3 separate regions of the Homo sapiens genome follow, and regions 2 and 3 are each linked to region 1. Evidence: promoter capture Hi-C in 16 types of primary human blood cells and fetal thymus (Javierre and others, 2016). All regions are on one chromosome and are shown on one strand. Each heading gives the region's core, a stretch centred on a gene start or on the middle of the fragment in contact. The rest is flanking DNA. Distances are from core to core; before and after follow the strand shown. Region 1 holds the start of CENPC (centromere protein C). Region 2 overlaps CENPC (centromere protein C). Region 3 overlaps UBA6 (ubiquitin like modifier activating enzyme 6).

The links. The method cuts DNA at HindIII sites, captures the fragments that hold promoters and counts their contacts. A CHiCAGO score of 5 or more calls a contact.
Region 2: a contact is called between a fragment that was not itself captured here and the fragment with the promoter of CENPC in region 1, in 1 of 17 cell types (monocytes). The highest score is 5.1, in monocytes.
Region 3: a fragment that was not itself captured here is called in contact with the fragment with the promoter of CENPC in region 1 in 13 of 17 cell types (total B cells, naive B cells, activated CD4 T cells and 10 more); the score reaches 16.6 in total B cells.

The regions. Positions count from the first base shown.
Region 1 is chr4:67,543,583-67,547,044 of GRCh38, forward strand. CENPC (centromere protein C) reads right to left here and starts at 1,921. Exons shown (of 19, transcript NM_001812.4): 1 at 1,756-1,921; 2 at 567-613. The coding sequence starts at 1,773. RefSeq lists enhancers at 1,676-1,915, 1,693-2,243 and a silencer at 2,066-2,205. The HindIII fragment of the contact is 5,245 bases long and covers 810-3,462 here.
Region 2 is chr4:67,473,252-67,476,659 of GRCh38, forward strand. CENPC (centromere protein C) reads right to left here. Exons shown (of 19, transcript NM_001812.4): 18 at 1,637-1,727. Among named protein-coding and RNA genes, the nearest start is that of CENPC, 71 kb to the right of the region's middle. The HindIII fragment of the contact is 7,822 bases long and covers 1-3,408 here.
Region 3 is chr4:67,635,109-67,638,971 of GRCh38, forward strand. UBA6 (ubiquitin like modifier activating enzyme 6) reads right to left here. Exons shown (of 33, transcript NM_018227.6): 19 at 3,835-3,863; 20 at 345-450. It also overlaps the pseudogene LOC107986207. Among named protein-coding and RNA genes, the nearest start is that of UBA6, 64 kb to the right of the region's middle. RefSeq lists a silencer at 3,267-3,316. The HindIII fragment of the contact is 7,169 bases long and covers 1-3,863 here.

The DNA of each region.
Region 1 (3,462 bases), core at 671-3,170:
AAGCTTCTTGTAAACAAAAGAACATACTTCTGTGCCCCATTGGACCTACTAAAATCACAGCTCAATAAACATGACGTTATTCATAATAACATCTTCACTTTTAAAAACATGCTTTTCATCCTATTACTAGTAAATATTTAACTAGAAAATTTACTTTTTACAGGTTTTACAACTAAAAGAAGAACCAAAACAACCCAAACAAGCACTCAACAAATGCACGACAGCATGTACTATTTTTCTTTTTGCCCCACTGAATAAGCTACATCTTTCTAATTTTACCATTTGATTCATTCTACAAAATGCTTTTCCCATGGCAGTCACTTAGTCAGAACTGAGACTCCCTCTTCCTGGTTCCACTATTTTATCAGGTGAATTTCTTTTTTCACAGCCACAAAGTCATTGCACTGCTTGCATTAACATTCCCGTTAGTATAAGATGACTACCCTTAATCAGTGGGCACAGAAATCATTATATTAGTCAGAGGTGATAGTTTTTCCTTTCTTCATTTAAAAATCTATTAACGATGAGAATAAAAATAATCTTAAAAGCTTAAGTACGTAAATCACCTGGAAGGTCGACAAAATCTTCTTCTGTAGCCATTTTTGAGATGATCCTGAAAGAAAAGTAAATCATCAATTTGGTTTCTTTAAGATAGAGTCGAGTAAAATTTATTTTCAAAGTAACTTCATCCAGTATGGGCATGCTATACACCAAACATCTCCTAAGGGCTCAAAACAATTTTGAGGTTATGTTATGACATAACATAGGTTATGACAGGCATTTAAAAACTGAACTGCAGGCATCTGGTAAGCTTTATTCCGCTTCTCTCCCCACAGTGAGAATGGCTTTATTGCTTTCTTCTGATTATATATAATGTAAACAATATATGTGCTCATAGTAAAAAGTATAGATTATATTATTCTTTCATACAACTCTTTATGTTTATATGTATAACGTCACATAATGGGAGATCATCGAAGCTGAAGATTTTCTTAGAAGGGGAGATAAATTAGAAAAGAAATGATACGGATTTTTATATAGTAACCATAACCAAAGTATGAAATATAGAATAGTGAACACCAAAGAAGTCCAGAAATATGTAAACAAAATGAGTTGTCGCCCCCATTAGTCATTCACAGCTTGTACCTTTTAACTGATAGCTGTCTTTCAGAAGAGTTTGTCAATAACATATGCTCCATAAATCAGCCTCAAGAACTGCATAAAAGGCCACCATTTTGACAGAAGAACTGAAAACGTCAAATTATTTCGAGACGTACTTGTTACATAATCTGTTTCTCCCAACTACCAAGTGTGACGCAAAGACACACTTTTAAGGCGTTTCAATACTTCTACCATGGGGAGAAAAGTTATTTGGAGGCCTAGGAACTGGAGCTAGACTAAAAAGCAGAAGCCAAGATCGCGCCACTGCACTCCAGCCTGGGGGACAGAGCAAGACCCCGTCTCAAAAACAAAAACAAAAAAAAACCCAGCAGAAATCACAAGCACCTCTCAAGAGTAAGACGTAGGCACAGACGAAATGACGACATGAAAACTTAAGAAATAATAAAAGTACAGTAAATTAACTCTGGTTATCGACACACGATCACACTTGATTTCAAAAATTCCTGCGGCTTTCCCACTGAAATCCCTCAGAGATCACAGCCTCAGCCTAGCATTTCCTTCTCCCCAGCCTCGGGCGCCCGTGCCCCAGCCAGCCGCTCAACCACTCGCCTGGAGCGGGGGGCCTGCACTTACCAGACCGGACGCAGCCATGTTCCGGCCCCGCTGAGCCAGCGCAACTGTCTGAGGTGGAAGCCCACACGGACCACAGCTCCAGGAAGCCGAGCAAGAAACGAATCGCCGGAATACCAGGCCGCGGCCAAGCAATAACCTTAAGTCTCAGGCGACTGCCGCGAGAGCTGCGATCCGGAAGGCGCGCGCTAACAACACTCCCCCGCCATTGGCTCCGCCCTCAACAAACAAGAACGCTTGGCCTGTGCCTGGGTTTGAACCCGGAGACACATGCGCAAAACGGGCCGCGCCGTCCAATAGGAAGCAAGCCGTTAGTGGGCTCGCCCCTTCATGCTCCAGGCCAACGGCCCTCCAGCCTGCAGACCCACCCGCCCGCCCTACCTCTAGCCGCTCTGCTCTTCCCACCTCCCTTCCTCAGCGCCGCGCCCGGGACAGGCGCGAGACTGGGCTTTTATTAGGAAGGCACGATCCTGGGAACCGCTCCTTGTGCCCAATGTAAAACTTCTCAACAGTTCTATTAAGGAATAATAAGTAATACTTGGAAGGATGAGAGGTAGAAATTGCAGACGACTTTTTTTTTAATAGAATCTTTTTTTGAAGAGATTTTTCTAATGCAGATTCGTCAGCCACGCCCAGCCCATCTAACCATCATCTCTGAAAATAATTGAATAATTATGTATAATAATGGTGATGATGGCTTGTATTCTTTTTCAAGTATGTGGGCGATATTTTTATGATGCATTGCCAACAAATGACCCACGTAAATATCTATCATTTAAGTATGATGCACTGAAAAGAATTCTATACAGAATCCTGAAACCTGCCAGCCATTGACTAGCTATGTTATGGAGGGCAAAATTGCGGCACCATTCTGGGTGTTTCCATAGTGATAGAATGGAAGTCTAAATTAGACGCTCTGAAGACTTCTCACCTGACCAGTGTATGATTCTATGAAGCTGTATCTTATTTTATTATTTAATTTAAAATTACAAGAAAATTCTAATCAGAAAATAGTTTACTAATTGAATAAATACATTAATCAGGAGTTGAGCTAATAGATTTTTAAAACATGTAGTGCTTTAACAAATGCTGTCAACTATGAAGGCCAATTTTTTTATTTTATTTATTTTTTTGATAGAAAAAAAGGAACTATGATCTCTGACTGAAATTAGGCCTGGATTGCACTCCATTCCATTAATTCTGCCATTATGGGCAACTAAGTTATCTGTTCCTTAATTCTCTTGTCTGCAAAATGAGAATACTATTAAAGTGGTTGAGATGTTGTAATTGAATAATTCCTGTTAAGATCTAAGCACAATGTTTGGAACATAGTAAGAATTCAATAATAAAGCTATTGGAATCATTATGGAGAGTTTTTTACTATGTTTGGCAGTTTTGCCAATCAGTCCAACTTATAATTTGGTGCTGTCACATTTGGAATAGATAATGATAAACACTAACATTTATTGACTGCATACTCTATGCCCAGTTCTGAAATGCTTTGCATGCATTGAAGAGAACAATTAATATTCCTGTTTTATAAACAAGGGCACTGAAACACAGAGAGCTAAGTGTCTTACCCAAGATCACATCACCACTAAATGGTAGGATGGGTTATTATCCCAAGAATTCTCACTCCACAACTGAGCTCTTAATCACTACACTCTTTGCCTCTGGGTAAGAAATTTTAGCAAGCACGATTATAGATGT
Region 2 (3,408 bases), core at 40-2,539, 71 kb before region 1:
GGCAAATGCTACTCTTAAATAAATGAGGTAACAAATAACAGCAAAAGTGAAATACAGATGGACCGCAAGTATCACATGTGACAGGCTTATTAGAATTGAGTACTATCACTGTGACTTTCTATATATTAGAAATTGAGAAAGTATTCACAACAGTGCTGACATACTAAGGATTATGCAAGTATGGCTATTATTATTGTCTCCTTCCAACAGAATGTAAGCTCTATAAAAGCAGGGATTTTTGCCTGTTTTTTCATTTATATATCCCAAATCTTGCAGCAATACATGGACATAGTAGACACTTTGTTTTGTTTTTGTTTTTGAGACAGAGTCTTGCTCTGTCACCCAGGCTGGAGTGCAGTAGTACAATCACAGCTCACCGCAACTTTGAACTCCTGGGCTCATGCAGTCCTCCTGTCCCAGCCTCCCGAGAGCTAGGACTATAGGTGTGTATCACCGTGCCTGGTTAACTTTTGCATTTTTTGTAGACACAGGGTCTTCCTAGGTTGCCCAGGCTGGTCCCGAACTCCTCACCTCAAGCCCTCCTCAGCCTCTCAAAATGTTGGGATTACAGGTGTGAGCCACTGCACCTGGCCCATAGTAGTCTCTTAATCATACTTGTTGAATGAGTGAATGAATGACAAGTGGATTAAAATGCCTATTTACAATAACTTCTGCTGTTCGATAGCTGATGAAGCATACCATTCTTGAAACAGTTTAAAATAATGTTCTAAAAACATAATTTCTTAGAGATAACATGGGGTAAATAATTTTTGTTCTCCTCTGTAATACAACATATCTGCTGACTATATACATAAATGTATTTTTTTTTTTGAGACCGAGTCTCACTCTGTCCCCTAGGCTGGAGTGCAGTGGTGCAGTCTCTGGTCACTGCAAGCTCCACCTCCCAGGTTCATGCCATTCTCCTGCCTCAGCCTCCAGAGTAGCTGGGACCACAGGTGTCCGCCACCACGCCCAGCTAATTTTTTTGTATTTTTAGTAGAGATGGGGTTTCACTGTGTTAGCCAGGATGGTCTCGATCTCCTGTCCTTGTGATTTGCCCACTTTGGCCTCCTAAAGTGCTGGTATTACAGGCATGAGCCACCATGCCCAGCCAATATTTTCATATTCAGTAGTAAACAACTCTTGTTCTCATGTATCAAAACACTAATTGGTTGGGCACTGTGGCTCACACCTGTAATCATAGCACTTTGGAGGCCAAGGTGGGCAGATCACTTGAGGTCAGGTGATCTGTTACGGCTAACATAGCAAAATCCCGCCTCTACTAAAAATACAAAAAGTAGCCGGATGTGGTGGTTCGTGCCTGTAGTCCCAGCTACTCGAGAGTCTGAGGCACAAGAATCGCTTGAACCCAGGAGGTGGAGGCTACAGTGAGCTGAGATCGTGCCACTGCACTCCAGCCTGGGTGACAGAGCAAGACTCTGTCTCAAAAACAAAAAAAAACCACCACAAAATGCTAATACACTTACCTAATGATCAAATGAAAGGAAAATATGTACCAAACTGTTCTGACATCCATCAGTCATATCACACTTCATTTTGACCACTGTGGCTTCCATTTCCATAGTGCCCAAAAACAACTATATACATGTTGTCTAAGTGAAATAAATTGTCTTACCTGAAGGAACATAGAACGAATCCCCAGTACTTAATATATAAGGTGTTTCATGTAAAGTACACAAAAGGTCACCAAAGTTAACATAAAAAACCTGTAAAAATAAAAATAAAAATCTCATTCAAAACTGAACCATGATAATACTTCAAAGGAACCTTAAAATGTAGTGGGAAGAATAACGACTCCCCACAAATGTGCTGGCTTTAATCTCCAGAACTTGTAAATACATTAAATTTCATGGCAAAAGGGACCTTGAGATGGGGAGATTATCTTTGATAATGTAGGTAGGCCCAATCTAATCACATTAAGCCCTTAAAAATAGAGTACTTTCTCCTGCTGGAAGCAGAGAAGAAACGAAAGAGAAGGAACAGTCACAGAAATTTGAAGCATGAAAGGGACTTGCACCGTTGCTGGCACTAAAGATGTGGGGCCATATGCCAAGAAACATGAGTTATTTCTAAAATCTAAGAATGACACCCTGGCCAACAGCCAGTGAGGAAATGGGAACCTCAGTCCCACAACCACTTAAAACTGAGTTCTGCCAACAGTCTGAACGAGACTGGAAGCAGACTGGAAGCAGATTCGTCCTTACAGCCTCCAGAAAGAAATACAAACCTGTCAACATCTTGATTCCAGTCTTGTAATACTCTAAAGAGAATACCTGGTCAAGCTCATGGTTCTCTCTACATAACTGTGAGATAGATAATACAAGAGTATTGTTTCTTGTTTTTTGAGATGGAGTCTCACTCTGTCATCCAGGCTGGAGTACAGTGAGGCGATCTCGGCTCACTGCAAGCTCCGCCTCCAGGGTTCATGCCATTCTCCAGCCTCAGCCTCCTGAGTAGCTGGGACTACAGGCGCCCGCCATCGCGCCTGGCTAATTTTTTTTTGTATTTTTAGTAGAGACGGGGTTTCACCATGGTCTCGATCTCCTGACCTGGTGATCTGCCCGCCTCGGCCTCCCAAAGTGCTGGGATTACAGGTGTGAGCCACCGCGCCCAGCCCAAGAGTATTAAGCCATTAAATTTGTGATACAGTCATGCACTGCCTAACGATGTTTCAGTCAACAGCAAACTGCCTACATGATAGTGGTCCTATAAGGTTACAATGGCATTTAAAAAATCGTATTGCCTAGTGACCTCACAGCCATCATGATGTCCCAGTGAAAAGCATTACTCACATGTTTGTGGTGATGCTGATGTAAATAAATCTACTGAACTGCCAGTCACATAAAAGTATAGCACATACAGGAAAAAGTGGAGGATAGAAAGTAGGACTAACTTGCAGCTCCCACTCAGATGGACAGAACAGCATGTGGAAACTCACATCATGAACTTTTTTGCCAGAAGAACTACTGCAGGAACATACCAAGAAAACTGAAAGAATTCACAGACTCTTTGAAAGAAATGGCTTGCTGCTGCAAACTCCATGAGACAGCTGAACAACCGTGAGTGCCCAAAGTGTGAAAGGGGGGAAAGTCTGCCTCCAAACACATCCTTACTGGGGAAGCTGAAAATCCAGGTCATGAGAGAAGGATTTAACCTTACCTAGAGCTGAAACGAATTGAGAGAGCCAAGGGAAATATAATAGTAGAAGCAGAGGCAGGAAGAGCCCTGTTAAGTACTCCTGGTTTCCAAGGAAACCCAAGGAAGCCATTTCTGACTTTATCTCATAGGGTTCCTTGGGGATGGCTGCCAGTGGAACTGGGGGAGGACCACAGAAAGAAGGAAACTTCCAGCTGAACTTTAAATAATTTTGATGAAGCGTGAATTTTC
Region 3 (3,863 bases), core at 463-2,962, 91 kb after region 1:
TCTCAGCAAGTGAATAAAATTTTATGTCTTTGTTGACAGTTCTAGTCTCAATCTAATAGTTTGTTCTTATCAAACAATCTTAAACTCAAAGGGTATTAGAAAACTAAGCAGCTCTGAGAAATAAATAGTAAACAGAAGAATAATGCTCCAGAAACACCAGACACAAAATTCTGATAATTAAAAAAAAGTTCAATTATATTTTAAAAAATGTACATGCACATATGTATGAACATCATTGGCAGAGCAAAATCAGAAGGATTAGGAAAGCTAAATCAAATTGTTGATTAAGACAAAAATTACAAGATATAAAAAAGACATCTATTTCAAAATATTGATTCACTTACATGACTATTGTAAGACTCAGTCAAATGCGGTACAATAACTTCAGTGTGTCCCTTAGTGCCCATTGTTCCAGAATCTAAAAGAGGCCTTAGATTTGCTAAGCAACGACTATTTGAAAAGACAGCAAGTAAAAAACAAAAAAGTGAGCAATAACAATGTAACCAAAGGACAACCTACAACTTTCTATTGACCATTTCACATACTGATCACTTCTTGAATGCAGTATTTTAGGAAAACAGATATACTACTATCAAACAGTGGATCATTCCTGTTCCCCTATTCTGCAATATACATATACATCTAGTAGTACCCTAAATCTGGGGCTTTCTTAACCTTTATCTCTAGGTTAATTCCTAACAATATTACTCCTTTTCCCTTGCTTTATATTTCTTCTTTGGTTATTTTCTAACTACAAGTTCTACCACACTATCTCTTCTCAATATTTTCTTTATCCCAAATAATATTAATCTTCTTTCTCAACACTTACAATACCTATATTCTACAAATTTTTATTTTTTAAAGTTTTATTTTCTTCCCCTCTTTGGCCCAAGATTACATACTTTTCACATTTTTCAACTGATAAATTCTCCCCTGTTAATATATCTGCTCTACACCCTAACATTGAGGAGTCATATAAAGATGTAAGGTGAACACATTTATAGTCATTCATTCATCTACTTATTTAAGGAATATTTACTAAATGACATCATATGTTGGGCACTGAGGATACAATGACGGAAAGTAAATGGTCCCTGGATGAATGATTTAGTGAGGACACAAACATTAAATAAATATGCATATCAGTAAAAATGAGTGCCATGAAGGAAAAAGTACATAGTGTTATGAAAATCACCATAGGAGGATTTAATTTAGAATTTGGGGGAAAAGAAAGTCTGTTTTGATAAAGAAATTTAGGTCCCTCTCCCTCTCCTGCTCCCGCTCCCCACGGTCTCCCTCTCCCTCTCTTTCCATGGTCTCCCTCTGATGCCGAGCCGAAGCTGGACTGTACTGCTGCCATCTCAGCTCACTGCAACCTCCCTGCCTGATTCTCCTGCCTCAGCCTGCCTAGTGCCTGCGATTGCAGGCGCGCACCGCCACGCCTGACTGGTTTTCATATTTTTTTGGTGGAGACGGGGTTTTGCAGTGTTGGCCGGGCTGGTCTCCAGCTCCTAACAGTGAGTGATCTGCCAGCCTCGGCCTCCCGAAGTGCTGGGATTGCAGACAGAGTCTCCTTCATTCAGTGCTCAATGTTGCCCAGGCTGGAGTGCAGTGGCGTGATCTCGGCTAGCTACAACCTCCACCCCCCAGCCGCCTGCCTTGGCCTCCCAAAGTGCCGAGATTGCAGCCTCTGCCCGGCCGCCACCCCGTCTGGGAAGTGAGGAGCGTCTCTGCCTGGCCGCCCATCGTCTGGGATGTGAGGAGCCCCTCTGCCCGGCTGCCCAGTCTGGGAAGTGAGGAGCGCCTCTTCCCGGCCGCCATCCCGTCTAGGAAGTGAGGAGTGTCTCTGCCCAGCAGCCCATTGTCTGAGATGTGGGGAGCGCCTCTGCCCCACCGCCCCATCTGGGATGTGAGGAGCGCCTCTGCCCGGCCGCGACCCTGTCTGGGAGGTGAGGAGCGTCTCTGCCCTGCCGCCCCGTCTGAGAAGTGAGGAGCCCCTCCGCCCAGCAGCCACCCCGTCTGGGAAGTGAGGAGCGTCTCCGCCCGGCAGCCGCCCCGTCCGGGAGGTGGGGGGGCAGCCCCCACCCGGCCAGCCGCCCCGTCCGGGAGGGAGGTGGGGGGCAGCACCCGTCTGGCCAGCCGCCCAGCCCTGGAGGGAGGTGGAGGGCAGCCCCTGCCCGGCCAGCCGCCCCGTCCGGGAGGGAGGTGGGGGCCAGCCCCCACCTGGCCAGCTGCCCCGTCCGGGAGGTGGGGGCGCCTCTGCCCAGCCACCCCTTCTGGGAAGTGAGGAGCCCCTCTGCCCGGCTGCCACCCCGTCTGGGAGGTGTACCCAACAGCTCATTGAGAACGGGCCATGATGACGATGGCGGTTTTGTAGAATAGAAAAGGGGGAAATGTGGGGAAAAGATAGAGAAATCAGATTGTTGCTGTGTCTGTGTAGAAAGAAGTAGACATACGAGACTCCATTTTGTTCTGTACTAAGAAAAATTCTTCTGCCTTGGGATGCTGTTGATCTAATCTATGACCTTAGCCCCAACCCGGTGCTCTCTGAAACGTGTGCTGTGTCCACTCAGGGTTAAATGGATTAAGGGCGGTGCAAGATGTGCTTTGTTAAACAGATGCCTGAAGGCAGCATGCTCGTCAAGAGTCATCACCACTCCCTAATCTCAAGTACCCAGGGACACAAACACTGCGGTAGGCCACAGGGTCCTCTGCCTAGGAAAACCAGAGACCTTTGTTCACTTGTTTATCTGCTGACCTTCCCTCCACTATTGTCCTATGACCCTGCCAAATCCCCCTATGCGAGAAACACCCAAGAATGATCAATATAAATAAATAAATAAATAAATAAATAAATAAAAAGAAATTTAGGCTGAAACTGAAAGGATGAAGAAAAAAAGCTAAACTAGATGAAGAGTAGATAGGTAGATTAGAGATCAGGAATGTTAAAGCAAGAAAAACAGAACTTCCTGAGGCTGAAGAATACTGTGTGCAAGTCTCTAAGGTAAAAAAGTGCTGAAGGCCTGGTAAGGAAAAGGCACAGACAGAAGGAGGGGTGGCAGGTCAGAGCTGCTGCGGGTAACCAGCATGAGCTTGCCTGGTAGAAGAACATGAAAAAACAGAAGAATATGCAAACAGTTAAGGGAAAGTGCCAAGAAGACAGACTTTCTGCTGCTGCCCACAAGCAGAGGGACCTGAAGACCATGCAGCTGAAGCAGAAAAGGGAAAACGAGAAGGAAGAACCTAAGTAGCTTTGTGGTTTGGTGTCCACCCCCGTGCCCTTCGCCTCTGTGCCTGAAGCCAGTCCCACCATGCTCACGTTTCCTCCTCTAGTACTCACAGGACCCAGGACTGATGGCATTCCCTTTGCCCTGAGTTTGCAGTGGGTCCTTTTTGTGCTTCCTTCTCAGGTAGCCTTTCTCTCCTGGGGCATTTCTGGGGGTGAAGGAGTTACTCCTTCTATGTTTTCTATTGCAGTGGGACTCACCCCAAAGTATTAAAAATAGCTTTACAATTCAGAAAAAACAAAAGACAGCCAAAAAACTGAAAGGCACATACAGCTAGAATAAGGGGAGCCAAGGAAGACTGGTAAATGTTACTCTGGCATGGTGAACAGGTGAAAAGTACTCCATGAAAAACATTTAGGTTATGTTACAGATTTTGAATTTCATTCTAAGTATAATGAGAAATCATCAAAGGGTTTGTGTTTGAGGAGTACTACAATAGGAACATAAGGAATAATCAGATAATTCCGTAACTTTTCAATAAGTAATGTGGGAAACAGAAGTGAAAACTAAAGACAATTCTGTAGGAACATGAATTTCAAGAACATACCTGTCTACGTATCTCCTGGCTTCCACATT